7 separate regions of the Homo sapiens genome follow, and all the other regions are linked to region 1. Evidence: promoter capture Hi-C in 16 types of primary human blood cells and fetal thymus (Javierre and others, 2016). All regions are on one chromosome and are shown on one strand. The core of a region is centred on a gene start or on the middle of the fragment in contact, and the rest is flanking DNA. Distances in the headings are between cores, read along the strand shown. Region 1 holds the start of GNAQ (G protein subunit alpha q). Region 2 overlaps GNAQ (G protein subunit alpha q). Region 3 overlaps GNAQ (G protein subunit alpha q). Region 4 overlaps CEP78 (centrosomal protein 78). Region 5 overlaps GNAQ (G protein subunit alpha q). Region 6 has its middle 44 kb from the start of CEP78. Region 7 overlaps GNAQ (G protein subunit alpha q).

What was found. The method cuts DNA at HindIII sites, captures the fragments that hold promoters and counts their contacts. A CHiCAGO score of 5 or more calls a contact.
Region 2: a contact is called between a fragment that was not itself captured here and the fragment with the promoter of GNAQ in region 1, in 11 of 17 cell types (M1 macrophages, non-activated CD4 T cells, erythroblasts and 8 more). The highest score is 7.7, in M1 macrophages.
Region 3: a contact is called between a fragment that was not itself captured here and the fragment with the promoter of GNAQ in region 1, in 11 of 17 cell types (fetal thymus, non-activated CD4 T cells, monocytes and 8 more). The highest score is 8.4, in fetal thymus.
Region 4: a contact is called between a fragment that was not itself captured here and the fragment with the promoter of GNAQ in region 1, in 8 of 17 cell types (total CD4 T cells, non-activated CD4 T cells, naive CD8 T cells and 5 more). The highest score is 9.1, in total CD4 T cells.
Region 5: a fragment that was not itself captured here is called in contact with the fragment with the promoter of GNAQ in region 1 in 6 of 17 cell types (megakaryocytes, neutrophils, monocytes and 3 more); the score reaches 11.6 in megakaryocytes.
Region 6: a contact is called between a fragment that was not itself captured here and the fragment with the promoter of GNAQ in region 1, in 3 of 17 cell types (monocytes, non-activated CD4 T cells and naive CD4 T cells). The highest score is 6.4, in monocytes.
Region 7: a contact is called between a fragment that was not itself captured here and the fragment with the promoter of GNAQ in region 1, in 14 of 17 cell types (megakaryocytes, erythroblasts, naive CD4 T cells and 11 more). The highest score is 14.9, in megakaryocytes.

The regions. Positions count from the first base shown.
Region 1 is chr9:78,030,201-78,034,031 of GRCh38, forward strand. GNAQ (G protein subunit alpha q) reads right to left here and starts at 1,611. Exons shown (of 7, transcript NM_002072.5): 1 at 900-1,611. The coding sequence starts at 1,035. RefSeq lists an enhancer at 800-1,694. The HindIII fragment of the contact is 11,535 bases long and covers 1-3,557 here.
Region 2 is chr9:77,808,243-77,812,073 of GRCh38, forward strand. The region is part of intron 3 of GNAQ (G protein subunit alpha q); the gene reads right to left. Among named protein-coding and RNA genes, the nearest start is that of GNA14, 160 kb to the left of the region's middle. The HindIII fragment of the contact is 312 bases long and covers 2,073-2,384 here.
Region 3 is chr9:77,828,302-77,832,132 of GRCh38, forward strand. The region is part of intron 2 of GNAQ (G protein subunit alpha q); the gene reads right to left. Among named protein-coding and RNA genes, the nearest start is that of GNA14, 180 kb to the left of the region's middle. The HindIII fragment of the contact is 7,148 bases long and covers 1-3,831 here.
Region 4 is chr9:78,238,435-78,242,265 of GRCh38, forward strand. CEP78 (centrosomal protein 78) reads left to right here. Exons shown (of 17, transcript NM_001330691.3): 2 at 1,589-1,761; 3 at 1,858-1,930; 4 at 3,262-3,365. Among named protein-coding and RNA genes, the nearest start is that of CEP78, 4.3 kb to the left of the region's middle. The HindIII fragment of the contact is 313 bases long and covers 1,765-2,077 here.
Region 5 is chr9:77,869,582-77,873,412 of GRCh38, forward strand. The region is part of intron 2 of GNAQ (G protein subunit alpha q); the gene reads right to left. Among named protein-coding and RNA genes, the nearest start is that of GNAQ, 160 kb to the right of the region's middle. The HindIII fragment of the contact is 2,032 bases long and covers 718-2,749 here.
Region 6 is chr9:78,190,638-78,194,468 of GRCh38, forward strand. No RefSeq gene overlaps it. Among named protein-coding and RNA genes, the nearest start is that of CEP78, 44 kb to the right of the region's middle. The HindIII fragment of the contact is 931 bases long and covers 1,252-2,182 here.
Region 7 is chr9:77,887,523-77,891,353 of GRCh38, forward strand. All of the region lies in intron 2 of GNAQ (G protein subunit alpha q), which reads right to left. Among named protein-coding and RNA genes, the nearest start is that of GNAQ, 140 kb to the right of the region's middle. The HindIII fragment of the contact is 919 bases long and covers 1,445-2,363 here.

The DNA.
Region 1 (3,831 bases), core at 361-2,860:
ACTGCACTGGTTTTCGGTAGTAACTATTGTGAACTGAGGCCTACATCTAGGTTGCCTCATTAAACAAAAGATACCGGTCGCTGTCAACAACCACACAGCACAACGCTCCCCTACCCTCATCTTTATCTAGAAGGAATGGTGCAGACGAGAATAACGCCTGTCACCATCCACTGGCCAACTCTTCTAGGCTCCCTCCTTTCGATGGTCTGGTGGCTAGAGAACAGCACTTGTGTGACACATTTGGGCTTGCCCTCCCGCCTCGCCCCCAGTACACAGACCCTTTCCTTGGAGGGCCAACCACTTGGCTTCCTCACCATGAGTGCTCCGGGAATCCAGCTGCGAGTCTGCCCACCGTTCCCCCATTCCCTCCTGACCCCATAGGGCACTGATAATGGATGCACACCGGCCACTCCACCGCAGGCCATCCCCCAACGTGCCCCGGCTCCGCTCGCCACCCGCTGGGCCACACACACGGCTCCCCACGCCACCACCCCATGGGGTGCCGCGGCCACGACACTGGAAGTTCAACCCCTCTGCCCACCTTTCCACCCCCGCGCCTCTGGTCGGAGTGATCTGCCATTTAGCAGATGCACAGCAGATAAGGTACAGCCCTCAGGGACACGAAAAGGAACAAGCCAAGGCACCGGGCAGGGCAGCCCCGACCCCTGTGCTGCGTGTGTGTGTCGCTGTGTGTGTGTGTGTGTGTGTGTGTGTGTGTGTCTGTGTGTAACGCGCCCGCGCGCCCGCGCGGGTGAAGGCAGTGGCCGGGGGCGCGCCCGGGAGGGTAGGGGCGAACCGCGGGCGCCGGGGGGCGGGGGCGCCGAAGGCAGCTGCCCCGCAGGGCCAAGGATGGTGGGCTGGGGGCGCAGAGGCCCGGCGGGGCCCCGGACGGTACTCACCGAGCAGCAGCAGCTTGAGCTCCCGGCGGGCGTCCCGCTTGTCCCTGCGGAGCTGCCGCTCGATCTCGTCGTTGATCCGCCGGGCTTCCTTGGCCTCCTCGCTCAGGCAGCACGCCATGATGGACTCCAGAGTCATTCTTCCAAAGTGCCTCCGCTGCAGCCCCGCCGGCACCCCCTGCTCACAGCGCGCACACACACCCTCCCGCCCTCGCTCCCCCGAGGCAGCGGTGGCCGCCGAGCCCCCGCCGCCCGGGCGCGCGTCCGGGACGAGCTCCGGGAACCGCCGCGGGGGCGGCGGCCAGGGCCGGGGCCACCAGGTGGGCCGGGGGCGCGGTGGGAGCGGATAGTCTGGGCCGACGGGAGAAGAGAGGCGGGCGCGGGAGGCGGGCGCTGGCTCGGGGGGCGCGTGAGAGAAGGCCGCCGCGCCCGGCCTCGCTCAGACGCCCGCGCCTCCTTCCCCGGGAACAGGCGGCCCGCCTCGCCCCCCGAGCCGCCGCCGCCGCCGCCGCCTGCGAGGCTCCCCTACGCCGTGCGCCTGGCGGCGAGAGCTCATTCACCGGGGTGTCCCCGCAGCGAGCGGCCGCCGACGGCTCCCCGCGCCCGGCGCGCCCGCTCCTCGCCGCCGCCTGACACGGCTCCCGGGCGCCCTCGGCCCTGTCCGCGCCCACCGCCCGGCTCGCGCGCAGACCCGGTTCCCGTCCCGCCCGGCAACCGCGCGCTCCTCCGCCTCCGCCTCCGCCCCCGCCCCCGCCAGACGCCCACCCCCTGCCCCGATTGCCAGGCGCGGAGCGGCTGCTCAGTGCGAGCCCTCCCCCTCGCCACACACACACATTTTCTTCTTTCTCTGAACTGGAGCACAGATCCGGGAGGGAGGAGGCGGCGGCGAAAGGAGGAGGAGGAAGAGGCGGAGGGGATGGGCGCGGGAGGAGGGAGCCGGGAGGCGGTGCCGCCCGGCCCCTCCTGGAAGGCTTTCCTGGGCTCGCGGCCGCCGCGGCGCGCCTCCCAGTGCGGCTCTCGCCTCGCCCGCGCGGCTCCCGGGCTGGGCCGGCCCCCGCGGGCTCTGCGGACGCCTACTGCTCCCGCACCCTCGGCAGAGTCCGCGGGCGCAGCAGTCACGGCCGCCCCCGGCCGAAGTCGGGGCCAGACCCGGCCGCCGACGCGCAGCCCGAGCCGGCGGCCGCCGTTGCGTGCCAGGGCCGCAGCCGACCTGCGGCTGCCGTCCGGCCGGGCGTGGTGAGACAGGAATATGGCGGCCTCTGCCTGCCTCAGCCCACCGGCCCGGGAGCGCGGCCGCGGCCCCTGCTGAAGTCGCGGGAGGCGGCCCCGCGGAGCCCCGCACGCGCTCCCTGCGGCGCCGGCGCTGGCGTCCGCCGCTCCCGGGCTGTGCCTGTCTGCTCCACGGGGTCGCTCCTCAGCCGTTTCTGTGTTTCCCGTTCCTATTTCTAAAACGCCATTCGGTTAGAAACTCTCACGTCACCTCTGACACCGGTGCAGTCTTAGAAAATAAGCTCCTCTATACTGTGTGGGGCTACTGGGGAAGGGAAGGGAAGGAATTGGCACCGGTGCCCAGAGGTGTAGGGGGAGATTCACAGGCGAAGCTGTTCGCAAAGTAACGTGAGATAGAAATCTAAATCCTGAACAGAGAAAGGAAGCTGCCCAAGTTTCCAAGAGCCTCCCGATAGGTTCCAACTTTTCATGCCTTTGTTTTTTTGGTGGTTGTTGGTTGTTTTTGTTTTTTTAAGTTGTTTTTGTTTTTGTTTTACAAGTTCTCTTGTTTCTGAGAAGGCACACGATGTTTAGCCGCCGAGTAATCGAATTTACTCTTCTAGACTGAGATTGAATTATGGATGACTTATGGGAAAATGTAAAATAATGTGGAATAAAAGGAAAGGAAAGAATGAAATAGAAGAGAAACTAAGGAGGCCCCAGCAAAACGGCATTCTAGTTTTTTTGATTTGCAATATGTGATTGAGGCAGTAAACTGTCGTATGCACATTTCATTGTGATCGTCTACTGATAAATAGCACACGAAAATAATCTTGTTTAATCAGGCCCAGGAGATGAAACTCATATTGCTTCCTGCCTTAAAGGAACCTGAGGTCTTCAAAGAAAATTGTCTTTTATGAAGAGAACCGCTTTTTCACGTTTCATGTGTTCTCTGAAGTGTCCCTGGTGCAACCTGCTGATCCAGAGTGTAAGGTACGGTCATGACTCTGCTTTTGCTACAGATCAAGAACTCATATAGGGTTCTTAGACAACAGGTGTGTAACTTCCTTCTTTCTTTCATTTGCCATTACTCCACCGTTTCACACACATACACACACTCTAAACCACGATTTAAATCAAGCAAGTCAAGATATAAAATATATATTTTAGGTTCTCTGTTTAAAACCTAGAAAATAATTAAATTTCACCTTGCCCTGGAGAGCAGAGAGGGCAAACCTCAACCCTTTTATGTGAATGCCTACAGAGAACAGCTAGACTTGCTATGAAATTAAAATTTAAAATCAAGTGACTAAAGAAATTAAAGATTGAAATTCAGTATGCAAAAATAGAAAGTGGCTTCAGAAGAAAAAATTTTAAGTTTGCATCCTCCGAATATATGTATGTATATGAGCTTTGGAGAGACACAGAACACTGGAAAACCAAATGACAGAAAGCTTGAAGTCTCTGGTTACCTACCCAGGGATCCTCTGAGACTTTTAAAAATGTCTTTTAAAATGAGCCATCAGGCTATCAGGTAATATGTTTTGACTGAATTGTCCTATTATTTGATGAATTCATCTGTTTCAGCGGGCTATAGAGTCAGAGTCTGTTTTGTCCCCCCTGTATCCCCCCAACATCATGAACACTCCCTGGCAACTTAGATACTTAAATGGATGCAATGAATCAATAGGAGAATGTTTCAAGTATTGGGGAGAAACCAGGAAGT
Region 2 (3,831 bases), core at 979-3,478, 220 kb before region 1:
AGAGTTAAGCATACCTAAGCCTTATCTTTTTATCTTTAAGAGCTTTCTGAAAGGGGAATAATAAAGACCACATCTTAGAATCATCAGCATTCACCGAGGAAGACAAATGCAGGGCTTTTTGTTTGTTGTTTTACCAAAGATTGGAAAATGTGGCCCACTAGATAACAAAACAGGAAGAGAATTAAATATGTCACTCAAGTGAAAAGAATGACACTTTGTGTTATTATTGACACTCTGAAGAAGAGCAAACATATGCAAGATCAATGTCCTCTTCTGAGCTGGTTAAAGATAGCATTTTTAGTAATTTAATCATGTAGAGAATAATTTCTCTGTTCATTACATTTCCAGGTAAATTTTAAGGTGCCAGGTTTTCATTTGACTGCATAGGATAATGACTTCTCAGATAAAGGGAGTCAACTCCAACAGAATCAAAGGACTTCAGAATTTAGGAGGAGAATTTAAGGATTATGTATCACATATAATCTATGTCTGAGGAAAGTGACGCTTAGTCAATGCCCCCGAGGTAGTGAGTAGCAGAGGGAATTCCAGCTGGACCTTGACCTAATATTTTCACCATACAACGGTCTTATCTGCCTTCAAAAGCCTGGAGTAGGCTTAAACTTAAAAAAAACAAAACAAAACAAAACAAAACAAAAAAAACTATCAGAGGAAAGTGAGGATGGATACAATGGCCAAACCAATATACCCTGGAGTACAAGTATTTGACTCATCAGTCAGCAACTTCTTAGCAAGGTACTTCCTCTTCAAGAAGGACTGGCCCTAAGTTAGCTGGATGTGTTACCCTATCTCTGAAATGCCTTTTGTTAAATTCAACATGGCACATAATATATTGGTGCTAGTTCATCATCAGACTCAAAAAATGTAAGCATGCGTTTAGAAAGTCAAACTCCAATGTTGACTTATGCCAAAAAGCCAATCTACTCATGTTCTTTACGGGCTCCGGATCATGTGGAAATTTCAAGAAGGTGTCTGATTTACCCAGCTCCCTGGAGGGGAATTCGGTGAAGTAAGATTAGAAATTATTTGGTCTCTTAAGGCAAACACAGCTACAGTAGACTAGCCAAAGCCTGCAGATGAGGCCTTTTCTCACTATACGCCAATGTGATTGAGACTTGTGTCTTCTGGCTAATGTCAGGGAGCTTTTGGTACTGTAGGCAGTGAACTCATTTGACCTGATTTCTCAGTATATTAAAGCAGGTGGTGAAATCTAGGGGAAAAAAAGTGAACCTACAACCATCTGTTTTTTGTGCTCTTTAATCATTTTCAGAGCCTTCAGGCTTTTTATCAATAACGAAAAAGTTAATAAAGTAATCTACACAACTCCCTAGGATCTTAGAATGCTTTTTATTCTTTCATTAAATAGAATTGGAAGAATTCACCAAATTAAGGCCAATTGCAAATGTATCCACAACTGCTTATCCATTATCTGGAATTTCCTACCTCTGTGGTTCTATCATTGCTGCCTGTCCTTTGAGTCATCTGATTACTTACTATGATAGGCAAGTTGGCTAATCAAAGTAGAAGGGAAGCTCAAATCATTTTATGGTGTCCTTCTTACTGGTTCCAGTAAAAAGTGATTGTCTGGATTTTGGGGGAGAGGGGTTGAGAGATAAAGACTGTAGGTTAAAACAAAGAAATAACATTCCTGAATTATCTGTAACTTAGAACATCTTTCATGTTAGTATGGATAATTGCTGCTTAGCTAAACATGGCTAAGTTTTCATAATGATAACCAAAAACCTATTGGGTTTGTTTTCCAGTCAATTTTATATAATTTTCCTTCTTGACTTTATAAATATGAAACTGTCTGTAGACAATGTTGGTAAAGATTAATAATTTGTTCTTCATGGTAAGTGATTTATAAAACACCTAATCATAGGTATTTATCTACTGATTCATCTATCTACCTATCTATCCATCTATCTTATCTAAAAACTGTCAATCATCTATCTATCTATCTATCTATCTATCTATCTATCTATCTATCTATCTATCTATCTATCTGTCATGCATCCATCCATCCTGTGTGAGGCTGTATTTCAGTGGTTAAAAGCTTGGGCTCTGGAATAAGCAAATTTGAATTCAACTCCTCCTCCATTCACTTACTAAGTATGTGGCCTTGAACAAATTATTCAGTCTGAATCCTAGTTTCCTCTTATGTTAGACGGGGATGCTAATAACTATGTACCATTGTAGGTGACTTTGAGGATTAAATGAAATAACACATGTAAATGACCAAGCACAGAATCTAACATATATTAAATATTCAGTAAATAGCAGCTATTATTGTCTTTGATAAGGCTTTTCATATCCCAGACCTTCAACAACAGCAGGAAAAAAGACTTGAATGCCTTCGGCTCTAAAGCTTCATAATATTTAACAGCCAAAGAGAGACTGGTGCTTATACCATGGTCATTAAAATAGTAGAAATTACCCATCTATTATTTCGTGAAACAATCACTTCTATTATTTCATGAAACAATCACTTGTGAAAGTCAAACATGAGCACTGCTGTCAGGAACAGAGGGTAGAGGGGAGAGGCACTGTAGTAAATGTGATGACGGAAATAAAAGAGATATGTACACAGTGTTAAGATAGAAGACATAGTGACTTACTGTTACTGGTGTTGGGCAAGGCTTTCAGAAAGGGTGACTCTTGAGTCGGGTCTTAAAGGATGAATAGGAGTTCATCAGAGAGAAAAGAAGACAGGCATGCTTGGCCTCTGCTCCCAGTATTTTTTTAAGTCGCTTGCACTGAATCTCACAACCACTAGAGTTGTGGAGAGAACTGCTACTACACTACAACCTTTAAGTAGGTGTGTGTGGCAGGGAGATTCTCCTAATACCAGAAATGTAGATGTTAAGTATTCCCTAAATCTACTCTGAAGACCTACCACTAGAGACAGGCAGCACCAAAAGAAGTTGGTCCTAAGCTCAGAAATATTTCTGTAAGATGAATATTTCTGTAAGGTGATAATGAATAAGAAATTAGGTCCAGAATAACAATGAAGTATGTTTCAATTATAAAGATAGGAACAATTATAAAGATATGAAGATATCTTTATAAAGATATATTATATATAAAGATATAAAAATATAAAGATATGAAAAAAAGGAGGCAATATAACATACTGAAGATGCACTAGGGGAATATACACAAAAAAGTCAGAAAGGAAAAGGGCTAACAATTATCTCAAACACAGAGAAAGGAATTATTCTGAGTTATTTGTGAACATGATTTTTAGTACTGGGAAATCAGCGATGTTTAACATATGGGACCTACATCTTTGCCAGTGCTGTCGTATTTGCCAGTTCCTGGAGCATCTGCAGTGATTACACTGGAGAAACATGTGGAACACAGCAGCAAATGAGTGACTCTATGATGCCCAGGTCCTATTTCTGTTGAGAGGTTTACCTGGCTAAGGAAAATGTAAAGTGCTCACTACTAAGACGGTGAAGAATAAAGTAAGTAACACTCGGGCCTCCTGGCACAGTGGGATTAAGGCAAGCCAGGCAGGCTGCTTGGGCACTGATGTATAGGTGGTGCCAAAACATCCCTGGAGGAGACCTGAAATGTGGGTCCAGTTAACTCTGGTTTATACACACAACCCCTTACATAACTGGCAGGAATAAACTGATTCTACTCCCTTTGAAGTAAAGAGAGTATTCTACAAAAAATGAAGGAAACAAACCTCCCTCCCTCAGTTTCACTTAGCTAAGGTGACCAAAGGTGACAGGTCCCTGCCTGTCCTGGAGAGTCGCTGTTTCACCATAATTATTAATACAGCCTCCTCTTTCTCAATGTGTCCTG
Region 3 (3,831 bases), core at 366-2,865, 200 kb before region 1:
AACAAATGTATTCAAAATTTTAATCAGAAACAATCTGAGTGTGTTGCCAGTAGACACTGCACAGGAGGTGCTAACCTATAGATCTGGTGAAGAATGGATGTGTATGTAGTAGGGCCTCAGACTTTCCAGAATCCTACCCATCCTCCTGTAATTAAGCCTTTCCTAATTACTTTTTTCTTTTGGGCCATTCACAGTCTTCACAGCACAATTGTTGGGCACCAAGCTGTATCGTGCCTGTCACTGCTATTTAACTGATCATGTTTTGTACATAAAGAATTTCCAACAATGCAGTAAATTACTTTAGGTCAGAGACTAATATTTCTTGCAGTCTAGCACAATTTTCATGTTAGATCAATAAATATTTCTACAATGGGGCTGAGCTGTCTTGCCTTCTTATATATTTGTCCTGAAATGTGATCTAACAAGACTGAGGAAAAGATGATACAATGACCAGTACAGGACAGAAAAAGTAGTTGGAAGGCCTGGGGGAGCCTCTGTTATGGTCTAGGACCAGTCTCTTAACCTTTATATGTTAAGGGTTGACTTCTATAACTGGAATATTGGATTAGATAATGGCTGAGACACCTTGCCCTTATGATTACACATTCAAACATGGCTAAAGTGAAATTAAAATATTTAACCAGTGGTATGGCATGGGCACCAGCCAAACAGAACAGAGCAAGGCCCTGGACTTTCCTCGTCATGCCTCACATCAGCCTTTTAGGTGCTGGATCACAAAAAGGCCAGGATGTCCTGGGGTGGGACAAGAGCTGCTGGGGCCATTCATGGAACTTGGGGAAGCAGCTATAATATTATACTTTTTCAGACATTTTAACACAGGTATGGTGTTATCAATAGTAGGGGCTGAATACTAACCCAACATATAAGAAACACCTTAGAGTCCTAAGTATTACTTTATTTGAAGGTTTTTATTCTTACATGAAAGCTACGAATGCTTACAGATCTGAAAATAAAAACAAATTCCCACCAATGCTATCAATAATCTTTTTTATTGTTCTTCTTCACATCCTTATAATTCAACATTTTTTGAGGCAGCCAAGTAATAATTCCTGGCTTCTCCATAGTAGTGTTAAGCTCATCTTGCAATGAGGAGCCCAAAACCATACTATGTTCCCTGCTTTCTTCAATAAATAAAGTGGAAAAGCCAAGGACACATCTGACTACTATCCTGCTTTTACAGATGAGAAAAGTGTTATTTAGTGTTCACAATAAAATTCCCTGTGACATGAAGCAGCAATGACTGCGGCTTGAAGCTCCTCTCGACACAGCTGCAGCTTTGTGGCCCACCCGCAGCCTTGAGAGCCCAAGAGAATGAATCAGAGAACAGAGGGGAGGGCTGATGTAGCTCTTGGACTCAAAGTGGTCCACCCACAAGCAGCTTCTGCATCGCCTTAGAGCTTATAAGAAATGCAGACCTCTAGGCCTCTCCACAGATCCACTGTATAGGGATCTCCAGGTTAACAATATCCCCAGGTGATCTGTGTGCACATTAAAGTTTGGAAAGTGCTGATCAGTGCTTCTCAAACTGGGCTGAACATCAGCATCACCTGGGGAGCTTAAAAAAAAGACTCTGATGTCTAGATCCCACCATTGAACATTGTGATTTAATTGGTCTGAGACATGACCAATTTTTTTTTTCTTTTTTTGAGACAGGGTCTTACTCTTTTGCCAGGCTGAAGTGAGTACAGGGCACGATCATAGCTCACTACAGCCTTGATCTCCAGGGTTCAGGTGATGTTCCCATCTTAGCCTTTCAAGTAGCTGGGACTACAAGCATGCGCCACCATGGCTGACTAATTTCTGAATTTTTTTGTTGAGACAAGATCTCCCTAGATTCCCAGGCTGGTCGTGAATTCCCATGCTCAAGCCATCCTTCTATCTTGGTCTCTCAAAGTGCTGGGATTACAGGTGTGAGCCACTGTGGTTGGCCTGGCCAAGGTTTTCTAATGCCCCCCCAAGTGGTCTACACTGGTAGAGACCTTGGTATCTGAAGTATGGGGCACACATCATCCATGGGGCACAGAGAGAAAATATCAAAACCTATGCATATAACCTGAGGAAGACAAAGATAGTAAGTTTTGTCATATTTAATGCATGGAGTAACAATGGCGCCAGGACTTGTCTGATGTCCCTGTGTGGTGACCAGGAGTTCTAAGGAGTCGTTACTAAGTATCTTTGTTAAAACACAAGCGGTTTCTTATGTTTTGAAAGACCTGAATAACTTAAAGATAACTTAAAAACACGTTTTTCTTTTACAAAATGTTAGTCTTCCAAATATGCTGACCTTTTTTGTTGTTGTCATCACAAGGGGCTGAAGTGGCAGCCTATCTGGCAGATATTTTTGTATGAACATATTTCATCTATCCCTTCAAGGCCAAAGAGCATTTCAACAATGAGTGTGAAAGCAACTGCTAGAAAACTTGTGCTGCAAAAAAAGCATTTTGAAAATGGATATTTGGATATGTTTCCATTGTGGTATGATTTTGCTGTCAAAACCACTGTTAAGGTGTTATACCACACACACACACACACACACACACAATCAATGTGTGAACTTGTAAAACTTGAGAAAAAGTCCTTTAAAGAAAGAGTTTCAGTGGAGTTTTTAACCCATTTGTTAAACATGAATAATGCAACATCTTTCAGTTAGTTTGAAAGAACAGCTGACATCAGTGAAGATGGACACTTACTAGCAAAATTTCAATTAAAACCCTTTGCATAATTGGTGAATAAGATTGAGAAAGAATCATGATGTAAGCACAGCTAGTAACATTCCTTCCATTTATAACTACATATCTTATGTGGTTTTCTTTTATTTATGAGACATTAAAAGTAAGTAGTGACTTAAGCAGAACTTACTACCAGACCACTGGATTAATGTGTCACAAATTAATCATTTTTTAAAAAAGAATTAAAATGTTTTATATCACAAAGGATTAAAAATTTTCATCACATAGAATTTTAAGAAAAGCCAAAATAACTTTTAATGATGGAGTGCATGATTTTAAAAATTAGGACCATATGCAGTTTAAAAGGCAGTCTACACTGGGCATTCAGTAGTATCCCACACCAAAATCAGGAGGATCAATTTCCACCCATGCAATTTAAAACCATCATTCATATCATTGATAATGTGTTCTAGTATCTACGATGGCCACCCACCAGAAGTGGAAAAATTATTAATTGGTATGACTGTATTTATAAAAAGCCTCTGTTAAATATAATACAGTGGAAAACTACTAGACAGCATTCTGAGGACCAGATGACATACGCTTTCAATGTGACAGAATTATCTGTTTCATACTCTGTGTATTAATATTTGGTTTTGTTGCTAGAATCACTAAACATCTTGACCTTAATATTACTGTGCCTGTAAAAATGCCCACGTGATATAATGGACACTGCTATATAGAGAATACATCTTATCTGATCACAGAAATACTGTTCATGATTTTGTGAAATTGTACCCTTAAATGAAAATCTTTAAAGAAAATGGATGAGCTGCAAGTAATAAGTATTCATGAACACTTTTATGTATCTATATACCTGCCTTCAGTTTTCTAAGACTATCAGAGTCTCATGTGACCTAAACTAGTTGTATGTAATTGCCCTCGCCAGCTCCTTCTCATAATGCATTAACCAGCAGAAGAATCCTCCACTGGCTCAGTGTCATGTGCTCTTCTCACCTGAGGTGCCTCTGCTCTGGGTAACTCTCAGGATATAGCACATGTAGGTCAAAGACATCCTTTGGAGAGATTAGAGCACTTTTTTTTTTTTTGGCTTTTCCAACACTTTTTTTAATGTTCTCCA
Region 4 (3,831 bases), core at 671-3,170, 210 kb after region 1:
CCTAGATTACCCACAAAGAAGATCCAGATAATTGTAGGTCTGAAAGGTGTTTTTTAAGTGGATATGGACGTGAACATGTTTATAAGCTGAGAGAAAGAGGGAGGGTGTGCGATCTGGGAGAGGAAATGATTATTGATGTATTTAAAAACAACCTGACCACTTGTCGTGTGCCCGGCCCTTTTCTAGGCTCTGGGGTTAGCACCATCTCTTCTGCAAGGACAGTTCAACACATCTGCTTCTGAAAATAAGTCAGATTATTCTCTACATCTCATTCAGGTGCAGGAACTGTTCTGTACCTCTGAATGGACTTTAGTTAACCAAAATAATATCAGGAACCAGGCCAGGTGCGGTGGCTCACACTGGTAATCCTAACACTTTGGGAGGCCAGGAGTTTGTGACTGGCCTGGGCAACATAGTGAGACTCCTGTCTCTACAAAAAGTAAAAAATATTAGCTGGGCTTGGTGGATCTCTTGAGCCCGGGAGGTTGAGGCTGCAGTGAGCCATGATTTTGCCACTGTACTCCAGCCTGGGTGACAGAGCAAGACCCTGTCCATGACCCTCCCCCTACAAAAAATAAAAAAACCAGGAACCAAAATAAATTAAAGATGGGAGGGACCTCAGAGTCAAGGCTAGCCTACTAGATCTTGCCTAATATTTTGCACTGAATGTAAGAAAAATGTATTACAGACCATTCTCGTCAGATATTCTTCACTGAACCTTCTTTATCTCTTGCATCTAGTGGGTCTAGGTTGTAGATTTTAACCTCCTACATATTGCTTGTCCATCCTTAATTACATTTTGCCTGGACTATTGCAGACGCTCCTAGCTAGTTTTGCTGCCGTTGAGCTTGGTTTTTCTCAGTTCATCTGCCTACTTTGGTTCAAGTGATCTTTCAAAAAGGAAAAGACATGCTTAAAGTGGCATGCCCACGCAGGACCAGTGTGTATTGGTTGCTTGTGTTCTGCACAGAGGCACTGAAATCTCAGCTGTGTTCTGTTAAGCCTCCTGGGGTTAGTTGGTCTTGAGGAAGGGGAGCTTTTTCTCATTTCCTTTATCTCTTTGATACTCCAACAGTGAGGCACATTTTTCTAACCTGCTAGGGGTATCCTTAATGTGTCAGTGGTAGCCCTGATCCTCATCACCTGTGAGGTAAAAGTGAACTCTCCTAGGCTTGCTTCTCCCTGCCTCTTTGTAAATTTCTGACTCTTCCGGCTACGGCTCTGGGCTTTAGTCGGATCCACCTGCAGTTTTCCAGTGCCCGGCAGGTGTCAGGCTTAGATGCCTTTGCTCTCGCTGCTCCCTCTGGTTAATGCATCACCCACTCTCACCCCATGTTGTCATTCTCATCTTTCTAGATTCAGCTTCAGGATTATCTTGAAGCCATCCTTTCAGTGCAACTTCTTTGCTTCCATAAGAACCTCTATGTACATAGTTTGGTATATCCCATGTGGCTTGAGTTTACATGTGTCTGTGCTTAAGAGGACTTTAAAGGACATGGCTCATTTCTATGTCTTAGCACAGAGCAGATGTTTTTGAATGATACATTGTATGATTGAAGTCACTAACTTTCTTTTATCTTTGTTTTAGGTTCTGACATGAATAAATTTTGCAGAAGTCGTGTTCCTGCGATAAGATACAAAGATGTGACCTTCCAGTTGTGTAAAGCTCTTAAAGGCTGTTTAAGTATATCAAGTGTGCTAAAGAACCTGGAGCTAAATGGACTAATTCTGAGAGAGAGGGATTTAACTATTCTAGCAAAGGTAAGCTTTGTCTCATTTGGCTTGTAGACATTTGATAGTTGCTTTTAGAGGAAAAAAAACCTCAATAACATTTTTAACTTTTCCCCCTCATTAAAGGGATTGAATAAATCGGCTTCTTTGGTGCACCTGTCTCTTGCAAATTGTCCAATTGGAGATGGAGGTTTAGAAAGTGAGTTTAAATCTCATTTAACTCTTGTCCTATCAGGCTGGTTTCATGTTTCCCTACATGCCATGTTAATTCCTGTCTGTACCTTTTTTCTTACTACTGCCTCATATGCTTGTTCAAACCTTGGTCCAGTCTCAAGTCTACCATGAAAGCTTGGCATGCTGAATGTAATCTGAACTAACTTTACTTAAGTTTGTGTTAAACCACAGACCACACAAATATATACCATCTGGTATTCTCTGTTTTTTGTGTTTGTTCATCTTTTAGAGTTTTTCTTCAAGAAATATTTATGGGAAGGAAATAGCAAAATGTAAAGAGGCCGGGCGTGGTGGCTCACGCCTGTGATCCCAGCAATTTGGGAGGCCGACGTGGGCGGATCATGAGGTCAGGAGATTGAGACTGTCCTGGCTAACATGGTGAAACCCCATCTCTACTAAAAAAATACAAAAAAACTCACCAGGCATGGTGGCGGGTGCCTATAGTCCCAGCCACTCAGGAGGCTGAGGCAGGAGAATGGTGTGAACCTGGGAGGCAGAGGTTGCAGTGAGCCAAGATCACACCACTGCACTCTAGCCTGGGCGATAGAGCAAGACTCCGTCTCAAAAAAAAAAAAATCATCATTACTTTAAATAATTAAAACATATATACAATCAATTTTAATGCACTGTGGTATGTTCCAAAATAGGAAATATAAGCAAAGTGCTGTATAGGAGCATATAAAAGGCTGACAGACTTGGGGGGAAAGGGTTGGGATCATGGAAATAGTCACAGAAGGTGACTGTTCGTTGGGATCCTGAAGTCTTGTGTTCGTTGTGTGAAATAGTGGTCTGGAGGGGTAAGGAAACCTGCATTTCAATTTGAGGGAGCAGAGAGTTAAAAGGCCTCTGTCTTCTATTGTTCTAGTACATTAGGTGCTCTAGTATAACACCTAATAAAATTCTGGGTTTATAGTTGACACTGAATTGTTGGTTAATAACAGATTGAGGTCTGCTCTTGGAAATGAAAATAGGAAGAGTTTTATTTTTTTTATGTTTTTCTTTCAGATGTCTCAAAAAGTATATAGAACTTTACTGTGGTCTGGAGTAAGGTTGCAATATTCAGTCTATTCAATTTTGGCATCTAAATAGAATTGAACTATTGCAATAAACTGGAGTAACTCTTTGTTACTGACTTATTTTAGAATGTACCAATCAGTTGCTTAGGTAGATTGTAAATAGTGATTTTAAGAATACAACTATAAAATAGAAAAGATATAAGAAGAGCAAATAAATCAAGACTGACTAGGTTGTATATGCTCTTCATCTTATTGTATGTGGTTTTTTTTTCCATTTTAGTTATTTGTCAAGGTATAAAGAGCTCTATCACTCTTAAGACAGTCAACTTCACAGGATGTAATCTGACATGGCAGGGAGCAGATCACATGGCCAAGATCTTAAAGGTAACTTTATGTTCCAACTTTCATGAAAATGTGTTATATGATTGCCACACGTTAATATTTTGATACAAGACAGCAGTTATTTTTGTCTTTTGATACATATGGGCATTGCAGTTTTAGTTTTGTTTAAAGAATGTGACCAATTTTCAGCCTGGGGTTCTACCATTTATTAAAGGTAGTATGCTTAATCTTAGAAATAGAAGACCTAAAATATAATAATTAGATTTTTCTGTAAATACAGTTTGTAAAACAGTAATTTTAAAGGTGCCTTAACAACTTTATAGTGGTTATTACTACTGTATTTAGGATAAAATTACATAATAATGTGACATGAAGCCTTTTTAGTAATTTGATGGTGTAGATCGGGGTAGTCAAACTATGGCCTGTGGACCAAATCTAGCCTATCACCTATTTTTGTAAATAAAGTTTTGAAACATAGTCATGCCCATTTGTTTACATATTAACTATT
Region 5 (3,831 bases), core at 484-2,983, 160 kb before region 1:
CTCTAATAACATCATCATTCTCTAGAAAAATTCGTAGCTAGTCTCAAATGCTTCTAGGATAAAATCCAAACTTCAAAATGCAGCCTATAAAATACTCCTTAATTTGGCCACTTCCTACCTACATAATTTTATGATCTGCTACCCTGATTTACTCTCCTCTAAGCAGTCCTCATTGCCCTGCCTATAGTCAAACCCATCTCCTTCTGGGAATGCCTTCCCCACTCCCCAGTCCTCAAAAGCCTGACACAAGGTCCCCTTTGCTACTAGCCTTTCTAGCCATGCAGCTACACTGAACTCTGACAATATTTAGAATTTTTAATTTGATAAGTAAATGGATGAGTATGTGAAAAATTCATAATGTTTATATCTACATGTGTATAGACATAGATTCTCTTCTAGATAATGCCTTCATAATAGGGACTTTCTCTTTGAGGTCTTTGAATCACCTGCAATCAGAAATATAGCTAGAATAATAGGAAAAATAATTGCTTCCATTTATCACCTGGTTCTTTTAAATAAGGTAATAAGCGAGTATGCTGATCTAACAGTTTTCAACACTGAGACAAAAAGTGATCTTCTACATTGAGAAGGCTATGGGAGCTTTATCAGCTAATAGAGAATCTTTGAGTAATTTCTTTTGGGGATAATTTAGTTATGCGATATTGATATTTGTTACATATAAATGAGGTTACAGGAAGCAGTTTGAAACCTCAAGAAAGCTTGATGCCTTTTTTTGGTGCTAGTTTTTTTTTTTTTTTTTTTTTTTTTAGACGGAGTTTTGCTCTGTCACCCAGGCTGGAGTGCAGTGGCGCGATCTCAGCTCACTGCAAGCTCTGCCTCACGGATTCACGTCATTCTCCTGCCTCAGCCTGTAGCTGGGACTACAGGCGCCTGCCAAGGCGCCCTGGCTAATTTTTTGTATTTTTAGTAGAGATGGGGTTTTACCGTGTTAGCCAGGATGGTCTCGATCTCCTGGTCTCGTGATCCGCCCGCCTTGCCTCCCAAAGTGCTGGGATTACAGGCTTGAGCCACCGCGCCCCGCCTTTGGTGCTAGTTTTTTACCCACCAATGGCTAGGTCTCACTCCAGTCACATTCTTCTTGAGATAAATACTTGTTTTGCCAAAAATGACAAACAACTCAAATGTCCATCAAGAGGTGAATGGATAAACTGTGGTACATTCCAAATAAAATACTACTAACCAATAAAAAAGGAAAATAAACTGGTACAAGCACATTAAAAAAAAAACCTCAAAAACACTATGTTGAATATAAGAAGCCAAACGCAAATGATAGATACTATGAGATTCCATTCCTATGGAATTTGACATCAGGCAAAATGAATCTGTCATCACAGAAAGCAATTAGTTGTCTAGGGATGGGAGACTAACTGTAATGAACATGTGAACTTTTTAGGGTTATAGAAATGTTCTACATGCTAATGGTAGTGGTGGGTGCATGGTTCATACATTTGTCATAACACCTCACAGTGTACACTGGAAAAGGCAACATTTTATCCAATGCAAATTATATTTCAAATAAAGTTAATTTAACATTTTTAAAGGTTAGTTATGACTGCCTCTAACATAATCCATATTACAATTACACATGATAGCTAAGGAAACTAAAATCTAGTTGACAATTTTCTTAAGATGTAGTCTATAGGACTATTTTCTTAAGGTATAGTCCTCTGGATTCTCCAGAGGATAAATAGTCCTTTACTCAGCACTGAACTCTTTCCAAATCACAATTACTACTCATTACTTAGGATCCAGGGATAAGAGTAGCCATCCCAGGAGTCTACTCAGGTGAGACAGATTAAATACAGAGCTGAGAAAGGTGATTTTCAAAACACCCAGACTGGTTTAAATTACTCCTTGCTTCTCTAAATCACAGACATGGTTTGTGTTTTGTTTTTTAGGGGTAGAAAGGTGGGATGATTTGTTATGAAATCTCGGAGAGATCCTCAACAGTGGTGGGCTTTTCTGATCCCTTTTAATATCCTTTTTAATATCCCTTTTAATCCCTTCAAAGGCCAGGTATTTAAATGCTGCCTCTTGGTGGCTTCCTCCCCATATCCTCACCATGCTTTGTTCCAACAGCAGCTCCCAGATGGAGCAATAAGGATGTGTCAGTTGCTCAAAGTGTACTATAAAAACATCACTTTTTTCTGATCTATAATAGAATTGCAGAATTTTACTACCTAAGTGGACAAGTGGCATAACAGAAAAATCTTCCTATATGACAACTTAATATTCTTTTGATTGTGTAGCACTTGGATTTTCATGGGGTGAGGGAGAGGTATGGTTTCATAAATGACCACATGAAAGGGCATAAGGGTAGAGACTGAAACTTTGGACAAAACATTGCTATGCCCTAAATTATTATCTCATGTATATGGAATTCAAACTCTTATTCCAGGGCTAATAAGATACATGTTTTAGCAGTTCTTCCAAATCAAATAATAGGTAGCATGTGCATCCAAAATTTCCTGAATGGCAAATGCTATCATTTGTTTGTTGAATTCTTATACCTTCCTACCATATTTTATTATATGCTATTCAATATTTCTTGAACATCCACTCAGCAATGAGCTAAGTAATTGCAACTATGCAATATGCAGTGCAAATGTATTGTTGTTTGGTTGTAAAGCAGAACTTAAAAATTACATATGGTCAAATTACCATTATGTGAAAATTCCTAACATCACTGTCAAATTACCATTAAACTACTAGGATCTGAGTTCTTGGAAGCTTAGAAGCAAAAAAAATAATCATTTCTTTTGTTTCTGTTAGCATCTCAACTGTGGCTTTCCCTTCCCTGGGGCAATGGAAGCCAAGGTTTAGCTTCAGAGGGAACACAATGTGTAAACTGAATTTACCATGTGCTAAATTATAATTAATATACATATAAATTTGTAATATACAGCTCTACTGTATAAAAAACTGTTCCTGCCTCCAAGAAACCCATAATACAAACATATATTTCATAACAGGGTGTAGAATACAAAGCAGATTTTAACACATCTCAGCACATAGTTCTTGACCATGAATGTGTGTGACTGGCATGGAAGAGATTATCTTCCATTTCACAGATGTAAACGCTGAAGCCCAGAGAAACAAAGACAAAGTCCAAGTTCACACACCAAGACTCTCAGGGTTTCTGACTCCTGTTTCTGTATTTTTAATAGCATACCAGCCTCTTTAGGGATACAATACACAGACACATGAAAGGGGCTTAAGTACACATAGAAACCAACACAATACACCTGAAGGTTTTACAAACTGATAGTGCACTCTCCCTCGGTAAGGACCAATTTGAAAGGAAAAACAGAAACTCCAAGGTGGAGTCTGACAGAAGGAAGATCTGGCTTGGAGGTAAATAAGAGGATATTCTAGGTCATGAGAATGTTCCCACAAAGACACTAGAGGGAAGGATTAGCAAGCGAATTTGTTTCGCTGGAAAGAGAATGTATTGGAAAGTATAATACAATAAGATTTTGTATTCATCCCCTGGGGTCTAATCTTGAAGATGTTACAACATTCAAACAACCCACTTAGCTGAAGCTAGCTGAAGAATAGAAACAGAACTGTAATAATGGTGGCAAACAGATGTTTACTAGCACAATGAAATATCTTTATCTGTTTGCACATGCAAGGTAGAACAGCCAATACCTACTAGGTGGTTGGGCACAAAAAGGAAACGAACCTCATTACATTATTACATTTATTATCATTTTTTAGGCTTAACTTTACCCCCAAGGGAAATAAATGCTTATGTATTCTCTAATAAGGCTAATAGCAAAAATGCCTATTTGTTTTATATTTACTTGC
Region 6 (3,831 bases), core at 467-2,966, 160 kb after region 1:
AACCAGATTATTAACATGGATTACCCTGGGGAGGCAGGTATGGGTGGGGACGAATGGAGTGGGAGAGCTTGTGAACTCTTTAAACATCTTTGCATTGTTCTCCAGGTTATAGACAGCACAAGTCTAATAGTTGTGTCTCTAGTCTAATTGATAAGGTTCTTTGTGCCCCACAATCTATTCCAGAATTCATTAATGCATCCCCAAAATATTTATTGAATATCTGCAATGAGGCCAGGAATAGTGATAGATGTAAGATATCTAGAAGAGCTTTACCCAAGTATGGAGATGGACAATAAAGTATGTGATAAGTGTTAGGACAGCAGTTTAAAAATGGGGGCATAGAGTTAACACAGGCAGGACTGAAGTATGGGGATAGCAACATTCTGGAACATTTCCCAAAAAAGTGGCACCAGACAGCTTTGGCTTGGCAAGCACCTATCATCACCTTGACTTGACTCATATTACCTCCTTTTCTTTCATTTGATCTTATTTAATTTCTTTTCAGTTTAGTTTCTGGCTTAGACAGGCAACAAGGTAAAGAGTCTGAGCTTTGGGGTCGGAAAGACCTGAGTTTGAAATAATTAACTAGTAAATTAATCTGTAATTTACTAGTTGTGAAGAACTTGGAACAAGGTGTGCTTATTTTCTCTAAACTTCCTATCCTTCATCTGTTAAAGGCTGATAATAATAACTACTTGTAGGCTAGGGTGAGTGTCCTGGGTTTTACTGCATTAAAACCCTTTCAAAATTTACAGGCTTAAAGCAACTACATTTTATGCATACATGTTGCTCATGAATCTGCAGGTTGGGTTGGGCTCAGTGGGGATAATTTACTCTTGTTATTCATACACAGCTTTAACTGGTATGGTTTGACTAGGGCTTGAGGATCCACTTCCCAAATGGTTTATTCTCAAAGCTAGCAAGTTGATACTCAGTCCTTTCCACATGGGTCTTTCGATGCTACTGCTTGGGCTTTTTACAATATGGTGGCTAGACTCTAAGAGCAAATGTTCCCCAAAATGGGAAATATGGGCTGCTAACGCTTTCCAGCCTGGGACCAAATAATACATGGACTCACTGTTGTATATGCCGTTGCTCAAAATAGTCACAGAGCCCATCCACCTTCAAGAGAAGTACACTGGAATATTTTGAGGAATACAACTGTATACAATCATGGCCAGAGAAATTTCCCAGGCAAAGAAATGAAGATGCTGGCAGTAGGAAGTTGGGTCTGCATGCACTGAAGAGTTAAGCTTGAGGGAACATGGACAGGGCACCGACATGGCACTACTGCCACCTGATCCATCCCAGAGTGTGAGCTCCTTCAGTTATAGAAATCTTGGACAGTGGGACAAAATAGGTGTTCAAGAAGTGATTCCAGAATGAATGAATGAATGAATGAATGAATGAATGAATGAATATAAGAGTATTCACCCTAAATATAAACAGAAAAGAAAACCTAGCACCTACCATGTCATTGAGCAAGGGTCAACAAACAATGATCAGGGGGCCAAATCTAGCTTACCACTTGCTTTTGTGAATAAAGTTTTATTTACAACAGTACCTATCTGTTTGTGTGTTATCTATGGCTGCTTGTATGTTACAATGGTAGAGTTGAATCATTGTGACAAAAACCTATGGCCCACAAAGCCAAAAATATTTATAGCAACCCTTTACTAATCCTTTACAATAAATGCTTGTAGACTCCTGACATAGAATATTGAAATCTGAGCAGTTTACATCCATATTTCTTATCATTTCTCCTTTATTTTCCTATTACTTTTGCCTTTTTTTCTTTTCTTTTTATTCATCTATTACTGTGTGCCCAAGGCTTAGGTATAGCTTAAGGGACAAGAAGAAATTTCACCCTAAGATCCAAAAAAAAAAAAAGAGTGATACCACTCTTATTCTAACAGATACAGCAACCACAATAGGGAAGAAGTGAACAGAGAAGGAAAAATCAGGGATGAAATGGAATTAATCAAATATGGTGTTGCTATTCAACAATTAGCTTGACTGCCCTTTTTGCAACAGGGCCTGACAGTGTCATATTTATACCACATTTGGTTGCCACTTGGCTAAGGAGCCTCAGCGGGGTACCAATTAGAGTTCTTAGTGGCAAACAATAGAAACACATTTTGGGCAATTGAGTCAGAAACTAATGTATTAAATGATATTTGGAAGCTTTCTTCATATCCAGGAAAGCTGAAGAAGCAGATCTAGAGGCTACGTAGCAAGAAACATCCAAAGTCCACAGAAGTGATCCCACATAGTCCACACTGCCCCCACTACTGGATAAGAAACTTAGCCAGTGGTAGTCTCATCACCCCTTCTGGACCTTTGACCTGGCTAAAGAAAACATCACTACTGCCTCTGGAAGGTGGAGGGGGCTCTCCCAGGATCAATCCCGATAATTGACTATGCACAGTCGCTGATTTCCTGACTCTTTGTGTTGCTAGTTACTGAGTCAAAGTCTGACTCCGAGCACTTGATTGCTGAGCTGTAGGTCAATGTTTGTGTTCTAGTTGTAAGGGAACCAGGGAAGGTGAGAATCTGGCTTCCAGAGTTGGAAGTATCTGTTCCCAACCCAGAAGATCCTGAACTTTTGAATTTTCCTTACTTTCTTAATGTTTTCATGTCCAGATTTTAGCAAGAGCTTTGAAAGGTGATTCAATGCTTAATTTTTTTATTCATCCTTAGCAATATTTACTAAGGGTGGGCTGCATGAAAGCAATAACCTATGCTTTGCTTGTGGCCACATATCTGGTCTGTGTCTGAGCATGGGCTCACCTCATCAACTACCACATATTAATGGAACACTTGTTGGCTGTGTTAAATTTGCCATTTCTCAACTAACTTTAAAAAGCTTCACTATTATATGAAGAAGAGAATAAGGATGTGAGATCAAGAAAAGGGGCTTTTTATTGTGTTTTTAATTTTTTTTTATTTGCTAAACAGTTGGAGGAAATACGAGCATGTTTTCCCACTCGTAGGAAAGACTCTGCATAGAGAGAAAGGTTGATGCTACATGGATAGAGGAGGAGCTATGGCTGGAGGCAAAGTATTCATGATATTATGATGGTACTATAGCCCAGGAACAAGGAATACCCATGTCATAGCTTGATATTCATCACTCTTCCCTACAGAATTCCCAATGGAGGTGTATTAGTCTGTTTTCACACTACCGATAAAAGCATACCTGAGACTGGGTAATTTATAAACAAAAAGAGGTTTAATGGACTCACAGCTCTATGCGGCTGGGGAGGCCTCTCAATCATGGCAGAAGGCAAAAGGTACATCTTACAGGGCAGAAGGCAAGAGAGAATAAGAACCAAGCAAAAGGGGTTTCCTCTTATAAAACCATCAGATCTCGTGAGACTTACTACCACAAGAACAGTATGGGGGAAACCACAACCATGATTCAATTATCTCCCACCCAGTCCCTCCCAGGACACATGGGAATTATGGGAGGTACAATTCAATATGAGATTTGGGATATCATAACAAGAGGGAACCAAATATGAAGAATAACCAGCAAAAGGGAAACCTATTATTCCTTCTTAAATCATTACACAGAATAGACAATGCAAGGCTTTCCCAAAACCTATGTTCAAAATCATGGCTAAGACCTGGAAACCTAAGTGAGACTTCCTGCTTCCTCACATGTAAGCAACACACTCAAGTGTATTTGCAAAGGAAGTATGGCCCATACCCCGGTTCACTTACATACATATTCTCATGGCATAGAAAAAAGCGAAGAGCAGTGTTTCACAATTGGCACTAATGACATTTTGGAGCAGATAATTCTTTGTTGGGGTAGGTGGGGAAGTA
Region 7 (3,831 bases), core at 654-3,153, 140 kb before region 1:
TGCAGTTCTATATGTAGTTTTGTGTCCATGGACATAGGTAAGGAACACCAGATAAACTGTGGGCATTTTGCTGGAGTGCACTATTAGTGAACTTCCAGCAGTGCCTGCTTGTGATTCAGAGAATATTAATCTTCTAATCCCCCCAGTTAAAGCAGAATGTTCCTATTATTGTTCTACCATATATTCTTAGAAATATTAAAAGACTATAAATCATGTTAGATGTTATATTAATATATAACATATCACATGCTACATATAACATGTTTTTAATATACATATACACACACACTATTATTCCCCAAGGCTTCTTTCTGTTGCACTCTTAATCATTTTGTCCACACCCTTTCAATAAATATTTACTGAAGACATTATGAGCCAAGTACTGGCACATGAATAATTCTTTTAGCAATTATTCTAGATCAGTAGTTCTCAAAGTGTAATCGGGATGCTCCTGGAGACTGCTGAGACCCTTGAAGGGGGTACGGGATGCCTAATTACTTTCACACTAACACTAAGACATTTTGTGCCTTTACTGCTCACATTCTCTCATGACTGCACAATGCAGTTTCAAGACATGCAATGATGACATCTTTCTGATGGCTAATGGAATGGGTGTTTGCACACACTTGTTTTGATGGGGTCCCAATTTTAATTTCCAATAACATAAATATCAATAGACATTAAAATAAAATAAATATAAATAAAAGCTCATTATTGGAATCCACGATAACTTTTTAAGTATATAAAGAGGTGCTAAGATTAAAACATTTGAGAATCCTCATTCTAGATCACTGGCAATAATTCCTCCTGCTACTACACAGATTTCAGAATACTAATTCTTGAATGACTTCTGGAATTCTTGACCTTCAAAATTAGTGTTCCCAGAGAAAACATCTAAATAGGAAAGTATAGCAGTAATAGCTCACTAAACAACTTTCCTGAGCAGAGTGGGGTAAATGCAGCAAGGAGAAAAGTGGCTTGCTATAAGAGTGAAAATATTTAAAATGTCTACTCATTGTCGCAATCCCCTAATGCCTCAGGACAAGATGAACTTTTACCATTTAAACCTTATTTTGAGTTATCCTAAGGTTGGAGTTCTGCTTGCCTTAAAAAAAGTACTCTGAATCTTGAAAAATCCAGACTGAGTCTGTTTATTCTTCACGTGGAACGCTGGCTGAGAAGAGTGTCAGATTTTGGAAAAAAAGTGAGGTTTATGAGAAAGATGAGGAAAATAATCATTCCTGTAAATCAGAGCAGCAGAATGGGAGCCTCTGGATTATTCACTAACAATTAGTCTAGCAAAGTCCCTTGAGTGTCTGACGCATCAAAGCACTAAAGCCATTTGCTCCCTCAGAGTAGGGGAGAGGACACGGAAGAGATTCCATTTTCAGCATGACATTTAGAATCAAATTAGAAAATCAAAAAATTTTTCATTCTTCCCATAAGCTTGAACTCCTCTTTGTCATTCTACAACTTGAATGCCCAGTTTCCTTTGAAGCACCATATATCATCTTTTAAATACACCTCAAAACAACTTTTGATTCCTTCACTTTACTTAGTCATGCCATACCTACTGAATTAAACATTTCAAAAAAATTCCTTAATCCTGAGGCTGGGCATGTTGGCTCACACCTGTAATCCCAGCACTTTGGGAGGCCAAGGCAGGAAGATTGCTTGAGCTCAGGAATTAGACCAGCCTAAGCAACATGGCAAAATCCCATCTTTTAAAAAAAAAATTAGCCGGGTGTGGTGGTGCGTGCCTGTAGTCCCAGCTACTCATCAGGAGGTTGAGGTGGGAGGACTGCGTGAGCCTGGGAGGCGTAGGGTGCAGTGAGCCAAGATCCTGCCACTGCATTCCAGCCTGGGCGACAAAGCCAGACCCTGTCTCAAAAAAAAAAAAAAAAAAAAAAAAAAAAAAAAAAAAAATCCTTAATCCTGTTTAATGTCTCATTATGATGTTTATTCATTTCTGATCTGTTTCTAGCATCTTGCTTTTGTCTGTAAATTGCAGGGTTTTCAGAATATTCTCAAAGAAGGATCAACTGTCCAATGCTTATTGGACACATGTTGATCCTTCCAGATCCCTAGTGATGCTGCAAGTTCATTTCCAATTTGCTGTGTTAAGTCCTTCTTGATACCAGGCAGAAATGTTTCTTGTTTTTTCTCTTCCCTTTATTATCACAGTCTCTAATGAGTCCTGCCCACTGTATTCAATTAGTATGCTTCTCTTTGTCAAAATACGTCACCGCTTATTTCTAACCAAATGCACAACTATCTTTATACCTGTTCTTTTGGTTTTTTCCCAAACTCTTAAATTATCATGGCCTAGAAATTTTAATAAACTGACATTTCATCCCAAATGAAGCTTTTGCTTCCATCTTTCCAGTTATCCGAAATGTTTGTCAAAGTCAAATTGTATTAATTTTACATGCAAACATTCTATAATATGCATACTAAAAACAAGTAAAACTACAAGTTAGTTACTCCTTTTATCTACTCGCTTACAAAACACATAATAGCTAATCCTTCAAATAGACATGGGTTTGTAAGTTTTCTACTTTATTCTTTATTAAAAATTATTTTAAATGTTTAAATTTTGAAATACTTTATCTTAGTTATAATGTATCTTAATTCTGTTCCCAATGTAATTGCCGATTCGCACATATCTTTGTATTGGTTATTTGGGTTGGCATACCATACTCCTAGAATCCTCCACAGTACTTCTTCCAGACCCCTAAAAAACTTGAGAGTTTGACTGAAAGACTTCATAATAATTTATCGAAGCCATCTGGCATTACTTAAGCTATGCCTAAGAAAGCTTTAGTAGCATTCATTTTCTAAATGTTCTTATTTCATCCTGAAAATAGAGGGGGCATAGAAATATGAGAATTAGAAACGTGTCATAAAACTGCATTGCAAGGCTGGGCACAGTGGCTCATGCCTGTAATCCTAGCACTTTGGGAGGCCGAGGTGGGAGGATCACCTGTGGTTGGAAGTTCGAGATCAGCCTGACCAACATGGAGAAACCCCGTCTCTACTAAAAATACAAAATTAGCCGGGCGTGGTGGCGCATGCCTGTAATCCCAGCTACTTGGGAGGCTGAGGCAGGAGAATCGCTTGAACCCAGGAGGCGGAGGTTGCGGTGAGCCGAGATCACACCATTGCACTCCAGGCTGGGCAACAAGAGTGAAACTCTGTCTAAAAAAACAACAGCATAGCTCTAGTAACAAAAATTCCATCAAAAATGCATTGAGGAGACATGATCAGGATACTTAGTTTTCAATCATTTGCCCAGAGACTCGTCAGATGGTAGTATCTTACTCAAAAGTCATGGTATAGGTGGGGCACGTTTAGTTGCTCATGCCTACAATCCCAGTAGGAGGATCACTTGAGGCCAGGAGTTCTAAACCAACATGGGCAAGCTAGTGAGACTCTGTCTCCCTGGAGGAGTAGGAGAAGGAAGAAATGCAAAAGATATGGTATAGCAAGAGAGTGTTTTAAATTTCCATAATCTGTTTCTTACTTTATGTATCCTTGTTTCAGGGCTTAACTTTCTAATTCATTAACATAATATTCAAATATAAAATGCACTGAAGTCAGCACTTAAGCAAAAATGAGAACCTTTAGTTTTCCTTATTTTGATTTTTTTACTGTATCCATTTTGCCATTTATATATCCTCATACATATTCTCATCTAAATTATTCTTTTTCTTGCCTATTCTCAGTAGCCAGCCCTATCACACGTTCTCCTCTCCATCTCTTGCTCTCTTTCGTAGCAGCAGTTCTTATCTTTTCTCTGCACGTTTAAATAGTTTCTGTATATTTTTGTTG